Regions from separate parts of the Homo sapiens genome. Here all the other regions are linked to region 1. Evidence: promoter capture Hi-C in human tissues and cell types (Jung and others, 2019). All regions are on one chromosome and are shown on one strand. The core of a region is centred on a gene start or on the middle of the fragment in contact, and the rest is flanking DNA. Distances in the headings are between cores, read along the strand shown.

Region 1 (2,793 bases), core at 15-2,514:
TCTGCCCAGTGCCGTCCGCATCCCTGGGAGCACACAGTAATATTAAAAGTGGTGACTCCAGCCCAGTGGCAGGGCTGCACTTGCCCAGATGAGGATCGAAACTGGCGCTCAGAGAGGCGCGGGACCTGCTCAACGTCACACAGCAGAGCATGGCGGACACCCGCCACCCCACGTTTAAATGCTGTGCGCAAGGCTGGGGTCATCTGGTCCCCAAGCCCAGGGTCTGGTGGAAGGGCGCAGAACCACGGTGGTCAGTGACCACAGGGGCCGAGGTAGGAAAGGGGGAGGGATTTGGGAATCCGGTCAAGACTCAAGGCAGGAAGGGAGAAGAGCTCTGGACGCTGGGACAAGGAGGTCAAAGGCCTGGGGCTGGAGTCCGACGGAGCCAGAGGGGAAGACAAGACTGGGGGCGGCGCGCGCCACCCAGCGGTATCGGGAGGGAGGACCGGAGGGAGGGCTGGGCCGGACGCTCCTCTCGCGCACCGATCGACCTCGGGTTCCTGGAGGGGCGTCCCCGTGGGATCCCGGCTCCGTACATCCTGGAGCCCCTAGGGGAGGGACGGACCAGTGGGGGCCGGCGGGGCCTCATCAGACACCCCAACGCCAGGACCCAACGGGACCGAGGACGGTCGCCGGGCGCTTCACGGTTCGCGTGGTTTCAGGATCTCGGAGAACACAACCGGCAGGTCCTGCAGCTCCGCGCCCATCTCCCTCCCCGCGGCCACACCCCCGGCCACGGCCCGGCCCTGCCGGAAGCACAGTCCTCCTGGCCACGCCCCCCAGTCCTTCGTAGCAAAAGCTCCGGTCCAGGCCCCGCCCCCAGCCCGCCCCAACCTCGATTGCCTACTAGGCCCCGCCGCCCTTTGGCAGTAACGTCCGAGTCCGGCTCCCGCGCAGGCCCCGCCCCGCCCCGCCCCGCCGCCCTCCGTCCCTCCCATCCGGGGGACTCAACGCGTCCCACCGAGGCCCCGCCTTCAAACAGGCCCCGCCCCCTAACGGACCCCGTCCCACCGAGGACCCGCCTTCAAACAGGCCCCGCCCCCGAACAGACCCAGTCCCACCGAGGCCCCGTCTCCGGGAAGGCCCCGCCCACGAACAGACCCACCCCACTGAGGCCCCCCGACGCCGCTGCCGCTCTGCAGCCCCCCAGGCGGGACGCGTCGCGCGGGCTGCCCCTTCTCCCTCTCAGCTTTCGGAGGGACCCGGGCTGAGCGCCCCGCCCCGCCTCGCCCCGCCTCTTCCCTCGCCCGATCCCGCGCCCTCAGTGTCCCGGCCGCGCAGGACTTGACATGCTGCCCGACTGCCTGTCGGCCGAGGGCGAGCTGCGCTGCCGCCGGCTGCTGGCAGGGGCCACGGCCCGGCTCCGCGCGCGGCCCGCGTCGGCCGCGGTGCTCGTGCCGCTCTGCTCAGTGCGTGGGGTCCCGGCGCTGCTGTACACGCTGCGGTCCAGCCGCCTGACCGGGAGGCACAAGGGCGACGTCAGGTACAGCGGCCGGGAACTCCTCGCCCTTTGCCGGAGGCTACAGGAGCCCGGGGCTGGCAGGGACCTCTGGCAGGGCACTTAGCCCCTTCGAGCCTCGGTTTCCGCCTCCGTAAAATGGGTCTGGGGAGAGTCCCTCCGCCCAAGGGCTGCAGCGAGAGGTCAGCGATCCGTGTCCGTCGGCCCCGGTGCACCTGCCGGGGCGCCACGTCCTCGCCGCGTGGGCCCCTCGTACGCGTCCTTGCGCGCACGCCTGGGCCGGGACACCCCTTTGAGCTGTTTCCCGCTTAGAGGGCGGACGCCGCCCCCTGCCGGCGACTACGGAGAGGTTCGGGCCCCGCCCGGCGGGAATTAAGAACATCCTGAGGACAATGTCAGTGTTGCTGGGGCCACCATAGGCCGAATTTGGGTATCTGAGCCCCAGGATCTTCTTGCCCCTGCTGCAGACCCTCTTATCCTGCGCTGTCCCGGGCCTCTCTTCCTTATCCCCATTGCTCAGGGAGGTAAACTGGCCTCCAGAGGTCGCATGGCTTGCCTGGGGCCTCCCAGTAAACTAGGGGCAGAGGCAGGCGACACTTCGGTGGGCCAGTGGCCCCCCCCGCACTGCCGATACCCCGACCTCTCCGTGGCCCCAAGAGTCCAAGGACCAGACTCCTTGTGTCTGTTTAGTTTCCCAGGCGGCAAGTGCGACCCGGCTGACCAAGATGTGGTGCACACGGCCCTGCGGGAAACCCGGGAGGAGCTGGGCCTGGCAGTGCCCGAGGAGCACGTGTGGGGCCTGCTGCGGCCTGTGTATGATCCGGTAAGCCACTTGGCTGAGGCCACCCCACCCCATTCACTCACTCTGTGCCTGCCCTGGAGCTGGGCTACCAGGGACCAGGAGAGTGGTCATGGACCCCCACGGGCACAAAGTGTGGAAGGGTGCCCCTAACCTGCCTGGTCACATGCACCACCCCACACACCCCCTCGGGAAGGGATTGGGGAGGCTCTGGTGTCCTGAGTAGAGGTGGCCCAGGGCGATGGGGTGGGCCAGCTCCACTCAGTTTGGTGGATTAGGGTCAGGGAAGCTTCATGGGGTAGGCAGGGATTGAACCCAGGCTTGAATGCCAAGTGGGAGATTGTCCTAAGCAGAGGGAACAGGTCTAGTGCATTTGAGGGGACCTGAGTCAGTCAGCATGGCTGGAGGACACAGGCAGGTGGACCCGAACATGACTACCAAAGGCCTATGCATGGCAAAGGGGTCTTCCTCTCACACTCCCCTCCCCAGCCTTCAAACCCAGCGAAGGCCATGCTTCCCTGACCACCTGCCCTCT
Region 2 (2,793 bases), core at 197-2,696, 210 kb before region 1:
TTTTGAGACTTCTTCAGCCACATGGAACTGTGAGCCCATTAAACCTCTTTTTTCTTTATAAATTACCCAGTCTTGAGTAATAAAATAGTGGTTGGTCCACAACATCAAGGAACAATGCTGTTACTTGTTCCAAACACGTATCATTTAGGAGGTTTGGATAAACAACAACCTAAAATAAATAAGCACTAAGCAAACTCAGGGCTACATAATCCCTGTGGTGAGATAACTAACAATGGGTACAACTGGGACAGTTTACTGTTAAATCACCTCTATCTACATGTGCCCAAGCAGTGAGATACTTGGTTTTAATCCTAAAAAATCATGGTGCACATTTACTCCTGCCTCCCAACTGGGCTCTAACGTCACCCCCTCAGAGAAGCTTGCTTTTCTGTGCTTCCACTCTACTTTTTTTCAGCATTTAGTAGAGCATCAGTAACCATCCATATCTGGGAACAAAGATTGTAAGCAACAGAAGCCCATTTGCATGAGCTTGAGGACAAGGAGAACACCTTGTCTCTAACAGGCAAACTCATGGGCACAAGAAACAAATGAGAGGCCATGAGAGAATGGAAACTGCAGTTACAGAAACCAAAATTCCTCTTTCTTGCTCTCAGAAGCCCATGGTCTCTTTTTTTTTTTTTTTTGTGAGATGCAGTCTCACTCTGTCGCCCAGGCTGGAGTGCAGTGGTGCAATCTCAGCTCACTGTAAGCTCCACCTGTTGGGGTTCACGCCATTCTCCTGCCTCAGCCTCCCAATTAGCTGAGGCTACAGACACCCACCACCACACCCAGCTAATTTTTGTATTTTTAGTAGAGATGGGGTTTCACTGTGTGAGCCAGGATGGTCTCGATCTCCTGACCTCGTGATCCGACCATCCTAGCCTCTCAAAGTGCTGGGATTACAGGCGTGAACCACCGCACCCGGAAGCCCATGGTCTTTCTTACCAGCCCTGTGGACTTTCTTATCTCTGCTTCTCTCACTCACAACCAATTTTCCCTTTTTGCTGGTGGCCCATCATGGCAGCCAGCAGAGCCCACCACCAGCTGATCAGTCAGTTACTGGATATCTTGGAGAGGGAGGGAGGGAGGGAGGGAAGAGAGGGAGAGGGAGAGAGAGAGAATGACAATTGGGCTTCTGGCCAACCAATTGAGTATAGGGAGGGGAGTACCACGGTACAAATATGGCACCAAGACCTGTTTTCCAGCATGGCCAGTGAGTAGGGAAATTGAGGGAAGGTACCTGCAAACACAGCAGACATCTCAGAACACGCTCTCTGTTCTTAGTTCTCTCTCCTGCCTTCTCCTAGATTGTAAATATCACAAGACAATCTAGGATAGTACCTGGCTCAAAATATTTGAGAAAGAGAAAAAGGAAGGCATTGGATCAAACTGTGGACTTCATGGTTTCCTAAATTCACTCTGCAAGTTTTTGTTTTTTGAGACAGAGTCTCACTCTGCTGCCCAAGCTGGAGTGCAATGGCATAATCTTGGCTCACTGCAACCTCCACCTCCCAGGTTCAAGCAAATCCCCTGCCTCAGCCTCCTGAGTAGCTGGGATTAAAGGCACGCACAGCTACACAAGTTAATTTTTGTATTTTTAGTAGAGACAGGGTTGGCCAGGCTGGTCTCGAACTCTTGACCTCGTGATCCACCCACCTCGGGTGCCCAAAGTGCTGGCATTACAGGCATGAGCCACTGTGCCCGGCCGCACCCAGGTACTTTTTGTATTTTTTGTACAGATGGTGTTTCACCATGTTGATCTAGGCTGGTCTCAAACTCCTGACCTCAGGTGATCCGCCCGCCTTGGCATCCCAAAATACAAGGATTACAGGCATGAGCCACCACACCCTGCCTATTTTCCTTACGTTTCAGAGAACCTTTGTGTCCCCTGGGTGTTCTAGCCCAGTATATGTCAAACTTTGCTGCACCAAGGACCTTGTTGAAATGCAGGTTCTCATCTGGGAGGCTCAGTGGGCCAGCAAATCTGCATTGGTTTAGGAAGCTCACCCTGAGTATCAAGCTTCAGTAAGGACCAGGCAGACCCCTGCCTGCCAACCCCCTCTCAGGTGGGCTTAACTCTGGCTCTCTCCTGCCAGCGTTCCTCCCCTCGAAATAGGAGATATTTTCAAAAATTCTCTTGGAAAAAAAGCCCTGTTTTAAGATTGGGGTGTTCAGGATTGGCCATCTGCTCACCATGGGGTTTTAAGACCTTTGCCCATACCTCTGCAACCAACTTAGAACTGACATCTTTATTTTGAAGGCCCCACTCCACACCATATTAAATTCATTAAAATCAATCCCCATTACAGGCATATCTCAGGCATCATGCCCTCAGAATGGAGTTGCAGCTGATCACTTGACAATGTTGTAAAGCATTAAACATGCATTCAGTTCAGCCTTGCAGTTTACACATTTGGGAGCCAATTGTCTTAGGTCTAAAGCATTCATGCCGAAGCATTTTTATGGGCCCCACACACTATGCTTCCCAGCCTTCATGGCCTCTGCAATGCTGGTTCCTACTGCCCCACCCCTGGGTTCTGGCCGGCTAGCCCATGCCACCTCACTGCTCCCCCATTCAAGTGTGCCTTCGATGTGTGGTTTCCAAACTCATCTACACTTTAGGGTCACCTGGGATTTTTTTAAATCTTCCAAAACCCAGGCCACACCCAAGAACAATTAAACCTCAACCTCTGGAATGGGAAATGGCATCCGTTTTTTGTTTTGTTTTTGAGACAGGTCCTCGCTCTGTTACCCAGGCTGGAGTACAGTGGCACAATCATAGCTCACGACAGC
Region 3 (2,793 bases), core at 182-2,681, 190 kb before region 1:
AAAAGCATTTTTCTAGAGATAGGGTCTGATCCCAAACTCCTGACTTCAAGCGATCTTCCTGCCTCAGCCTCCCAAAGTGCTGGGATTACAGTCATAAGCCTCCGCGCCCAGCCCAGAGCACACTTTTTTTTTTTTTTATACGGAGTCTCACTCTGTCACCCAGGCTGGAGTTCGGTGGCAAGATCTCGGCCCAGAGCACACTTTTAACCACCATATCATTATGCCTCTGGGTAGGTCAGTCAAGCTCTGTAGCTGATCAGATGTCTGTAGAGAGAAGGAGACATCGGTCTCCCCTTCTTCCAAACACCCCCGAATTTTACAAGTGATTTTCTCAGATCCCTCAGCATCAGGAATGGGGATGAGCAGGGCAGCCTGTCCCCTTCCCAACAGCCCAGCAGATATCCGAAGATTACATCTCATTGGCTCTGACTAGGACATGAGCCCAAAGCTGAACCAGTTGCTGTAGCCATGGCATGCAGCATCCTCTGTCCTCTGGCCAGGCCAGAGCCACATCCCACCTCTGGATCCTCGAGTTGAGTGAATACATCTTGAACCAGGCACGGACTGAAGCTCAAGGGGGAGTCAGAGTAATGTGACCCAGCCCAGCATGTAGTGGGTGCTGAGCAGGCAAGCATTCATCACCCACTGCACACACCAGGGAAGGCTTGTGGTGGCTTAGTCCCACCTGGGGGCAAAGGAAAGAGTGCCTGCTCCGTGCCAAAATGTGATGCCCCACACTGTATCTTAAAGCTAGCTGGCTTTGTAATCCCAGCTACTTGGGAGGCTGAGGCAGGAGAATCACTTGAATCCAGGAGGCAGAGGTTGCAGTGAGCCAAGATCACGCCATTGCACTCCAGCCTGGGTGACAAGAAAGAAATTCTCTCTCAAAAAAAAAAAAAAAAAAAGCTAGTCGACTTAATCCTCGCAAAGATGCCATCTACTTTTTGGCATTCTACAGGTAGAAACACTGAGACACTGGAAAATTTAAAAACTCACAACCAGCCGGGTGCAGTGTCTCTTGCGTGTAATCCCAGCAGTTTGAGAGGCTGAGGCAGGAGAATCACTTAAACCCAGGAGTTCAGGACAAGCCTGGGCAAATTAGCGAGACCTCATCTCTACAAAGACTAAAAAAAAAAAAAAAAAAAAAAAAATTAGGGCTAGGCGCGGTGGCTCACACATGTAATCCCAGCACTTTGGGAGGTCAAGGCAGGTGGATCACTTCAGCCCAGGGGTTCGAAACCAGCCTGGCCATCACGACAAAACTCTATCTCAATTAAAAATGCAAAACTTAGCTGAGCATAGTGGCACGTGTCTATAATCCCAGCTACTTGGGAGGCTGAGGCAAAAGAATTGCTTGAACCCAGGAGTCAGAAGTTGCAGTGAGCTGAGATCGTGCCACTGCACTCCAGCCTAGGTGAGAGAGTGACACCGTGTCTCAAAAAAATATATATATATAGGTATGGTGGTACATGCCTGTGGCCCCAGCTACTCAAGAGGCTGAGGTAGGAGGATCGCTTAAGCCCAGGAGTTCAAGGGTGCAATGAGCTATGATTGTACCACTGCACCACTATATATACACATATATATATGTATATGTATATAGGTATGTCTATATATACACATATATATACATGTATATGTATGTATATATATGTGTATATATATAAAAAACACACATGCACAGATTCACCACCAACAACTCAGAAATTACCGTCTCCCTCTATTCTAAGGAATTATTTTTCATTTTGCCATCTCTGAAGTTGTAATACACCTTACAATCACTGGAATGTCACAGTCTCGTTGGCGGCATTTTTCTGCTTAGTAGCCCATAAAATAATAGTACATCTTGTAACTAACAGTGTTGTAGATGCTATGAGATCCTGGGGAATCCCAGAATCTAACTCCACCCTGTCTGACTCCAAAGACCACATATTTTCTATGTCTTTGGACTGGGGCACAGATGTAGACAACTCGAGCTTTGCTGATTGTGAGAAAGGTATGAGAAATGGCCCTGATGGAATTTTCTTATTGTACGTGAAGGGGAAGAAAGCAGCATCATCCCACTATTCCAGGGGAGGTGCTAAATACGAGGGTGAGGCTGTCAAGCGGTCCCTGGTGGAGTCCTACACTCACCAAAATAACAACGAGACAGAGCAGAGGGAGAACATCGATACCGTCATGAACTGCTTCACCAAGGAAGACTTTGACTTTGTGACTCTGTACTACAGACAGCCAGATAACGTAGGACATCGATTCAAGCCAGAGGCAGAGAATAGGAAGTTGATGATTCAGCAACTCGACAGGACCATCTGGTATCTGGTGGGAGCCACTGAGAAGCACAGCCTGCAGAGCACCTCAGGTCATCATCACATGAGACCATGGGATGATGACCGTGAAGAAGAGACCCAATGTCAACAAGATCCCTTGTCCAACTACATCAAGTTCAGGGACTGGGTCAAGTTTGATATTGTGGGCTATGGTGGCTTTGGGCTGCCCCTACCCAAACTGGGGCAAGAAGAAGCCCTTTACCAGGCACTGAAGAATGCGCACCCTCACCTCCACATCTACAAGAAGGAGGAGTTTCCAGAACACTTCCATCTCGCTAAACATGACCGGGTTCTGCCAATCGTGATGTATGCCAACTCTAGTTACAGTATCAATGGGATAAGTTCATTCTAAAATGAATAAAGTCACCTTGGATCTAGGAGACAACCATTAGGGAAGGGTGGTTCTGCAAAAATCAAACATGAGTGCACAGCCAGGCACAGTGGCTCACGCCTATAATCCCAGCAC
Region 4 (2,793 bases), core at 155-2,654, 140 kb before region 1:
GGTTATATAGGGCACTCTCGAACTGTTGATAGAATCCAGCAGCTCCTCACCGTTCCAGAGTCAATCGTAGGAGAAAAGACACTCCCTGCTTGGGAATATCCCCTCTCTGCATTCCCCAGGTAGCATGATCCAGTATAAACCATTTCCATTTTATTATGTTTCTTTCTTTCTTTCTTTCTTTTTCTGAGATGGAGTCTTGCTCTTGTTGCCCAGGCTGGAGTGCAATGATGTGATCTCGGCTCACTGCAACCTCCGCCTCCCAGGTTCAAGCTATTCTCCTGCATCAGCCTACTGAGTAGCTGGGATTACAGGCATCCGCCACCATGCCCGGCTAATTTTTTGTATTTTTAGTAGAGACAGAGTTTCACCATGTTGGCCAGGCTGGTCTTAAACTCCTGATCTCAGGTGATACACCCACCTCGGTCTCCCAAAGTGCTGGGATTACAGGTGTGAGCCACTGCACTCAGCCACCTTCCTCCTTTTAAGGACTCTTGTGATTATATAAACCCCTTCCAGATAATCCAGGATAATCTCCCCCACTCAAAATCCTGAACTTAATCACATCTGCCAAGTCCCTTTTACCATCAATCTCTGGTAACATAATCAGTGGTCCTGGGGATTAAGGTCTGTGGACATCTTTGGGGGCCGTTATTCTGCCTACCACATGGACCATCTTTGACTTTCTTAACTTCCACCCACTTTTCATTTTTTTTTTTTTTTTTTTTGAGATGGAGTTTTGCTCTTGCTGCCCAGGCAGGCGTGTAATGGCGCAATCTCAGCTCACTGCAACCTCTGCCTCCCAGATTCAAGTGATTCACCTGCCTCAGCCTCCCACGTAACTGGGATTACAAGCACCTGCCACCATGCCTGGCTAATTTTGTATTTTTAGCAGAGATGGGGTTTTTCCATGTTAGTCAGCCTGGTCTTGAACTCTCAATCTCAGGTGATCCACCTGCCTCAGCCTCTCGAAGTGCTGGGATTACAAGCATGAGCCACCGCACCAGGCCCCTCCACTCATTTTTCAACCTTTTCCAAACAAGCTTCTGTCCCCACCACCCATTCCATATGGTTTCAAAATGGATCTTGATGGCCTCCGTGTTGCTGAAACTATGGGGTTGTCCTAGCTGTCCTTCTTCCTGAGCTTTTGGCACTGTAGACCAAACAGCTTGAGCCATCGGCAGGTAGCCAGGAGGACCAGAGCATTTGGGTGATGGCTGGTCCTCATGAGCCTGTCCTGCTGTCACCTAGCAGCCCATCCTGGTGGGACTGAGGCTGGCTATGGAAAGCGTTCCGCACCCCCTTGCTCCATGAGTTACCCAGGGCTCCACGTGCCTAGGATTTCTTTATTGTTTAAAAGTGTAGGTCAGATAACTGCAGGTGAAGTTTTCTTAAAAATTTTTGTTCACATATCCAAAGTGGATAACTGGGTGAGCTTTCACAAAGTAAAGCACATGCACGCCATGCAGATCAAGGAACAGGGCATGGCCAGCTTGCCTGAGCGCCTCATTCTCCCCTCCCTAACGCTAGCTCCTCTCCTCCCAAAGGTAATGCTATCCTGGGGATAGGGATTTTTTTTTTCCTTTTAAATAGACTTAATGTGTTAGAGAAGTTCTAGGTTCATAGAAAAATGGAGCAGAGGCCAGGTGCCATGGCTCACACCTGTAATCCCAGCACTCTGAGAGGCTGAGGTGGGCAGATCACGAGGTCAGGAGTTTGAGACCAGACTGACCAACATGATGAAACCCTGTCTCTACTAAAAATACAAAAAATTAGCTGGGCCTGGTGGTGCATGCCTGTAATCCTAGCTACTTGGGAGGCTGAGGCAGGAGAACTGCTTGAACCTGGGAGGTGGAGGTTGCAGTGGGCTGAGATCTTACCTCTGTATTCCAGCCTGGGTGACAAAGAAAGAAGAAAAGAAAGGAGAAAGAAACAGAGAGAGAGATAGAAAGGAGGGAGGGAAGGAAGGAAGGGAAGGAAAAGGAAAGAAAGAGATAAGAAAAGAAAGAAAGAAAAATGGAACAGAAAGTGCAGTTTTCATCAACCTCTACTCCCACCTGCCACACATACACACGTGCAGCTTCCCCCACTAGCAATATCAAACCTGAGTGGGATATTTTTCATAATCAATAAACCTACATTGACACATCACTATCACCTACAGTCCATAGTTTACATGAGGGCTCACTCTTGGTGTTGTACATTGCGTGGGTTTGGACATATGGACAATGACGTGGATCCACCATTGTAGTATCACACAGAGTAGTTTCACTGCCTAAAAATCTTCTGTGTTTCACCAATTCATTCCTCCTTTGTCCTGACCTCTGGAAACCATGGATATTTTCACTGTCTCCATAGTTTTGCTTTATCCAGAATGTCAAATAGTTGGAACTATACAGTGTGCAGCCTTTTCGGATGGGCTTCTTTCACTTAGGAATATGCATTTAAGATTTCTCCATGTCTTTTTGTGGTTTGATAGCTCATTTCATTTTAGTGCTAAATAACATTCCATTGTCTGGATGTGGGCCTAGGCTTGTTTTTTTTGTTTGTTTGTTTGTTTTTGTTTTTGTTTTTCTTTTTTGAGATGGGGTTTTGCTCTGTTTCCCCGGCTGGAGTGCAGTGGCACAATCTCGGCTCACTGCAGCCTCCGCCTCCAGGGTTCAAGCAATTTCCCCACCTCAGCCTCCAGCGTAGCTGGGATTAAAGTGGGGCACCACCACACCCATCTAATTTTTTGCATTTTTAGTAGAGACTGGATTTCACCATGTTGGCCAAGCTGGTCTCAAACTCCTGACC

The links. The method cuts DNA at HindIII sites, captures the fragments that hold promoters and counts their contacts. A contact is called where the count stands out against the background at its distance.
Region 2: a fragment that was not itself captured here is called in contact with the fragment with the promoter of NUDT8 in region 1 in 2 of the 25 tissues and cell types used here (hippocampus and mesendoderm cells).
Region 3: a fragment that was not itself captured here is called in contact with the fragment with the promoter of NUDT8 in region 1 in 6 of the 25 tissues and cell types used here (dorsolateral prefrontal cortex, heart left ventricle, liver and 3 more).
Region 4: a fragment that was not itself captured here is called in contact with the fragment with the promoter of NUDT8 in region 1 in 5 of the 25 tissues and cell types used here (IMR-90 fibroblasts, lymphoblastoid cells, mesendoderm cells and 2 more).

The regions. Positions count from the first base shown.
Region 1 is chr11:67,628,408-67,631,200 of GRCh38, reverse strand. It overlaps NUDT8 (nudix hydrolase 8), which reads left to right and starts at 1,264. Exons shown (of 4, transcript NM_001243750.2): 1 at 1,264-1,483; 2 at 2,150-2,282. The coding sequence starts at 1,290. RefSeq lists silencers at 342-511, 632-1,421, 1,712-1,861, 2,429-2,723. The HindIII fragment of the contact is 11,433 bases long and covers 1-2,793 here.
Region 2 is chr11:67,836,495-67,839,287 of GRCh38, reverse strand. The region is part of intron 3 of LOC112268076 (translation initiation factor IF-2-like); the gene reads left to right. It also overlaps the pseudogene ENPP7P7. Among named protein-coding and RNA genes, the nearest start is that of LINC02754, 47 kb to the left of the region's middle. The HindIII fragment of the contact is 3,364 bases long and covers 1-2,793 here.
Region 3 is chr11:67,819,772-67,822,564 of GRCh38, reverse strand. All of the region lies in intron 3 of LOC112268076 (translation initiation factor IF-2-like), which reads left to right. It also overlaps the pseudogene ENPP7P7. Among named protein-coding and RNA genes, the nearest start is that of LINC02754, 63 kb to the left of the region's middle. The HindIII fragment of the contact is 6,215 bases long and covers 1-2,793 here.
Region 4 is chr11:67,766,582-67,769,374 of GRCh38, reverse strand. No RefSeq gene overlaps it. Among named protein-coding and RNA genes, the nearest start is that of ALDH3B2, 93 kb to the right of the region's middle. The HindIII fragment of the contact is 3,973 bases long and covers 1-2,793 here.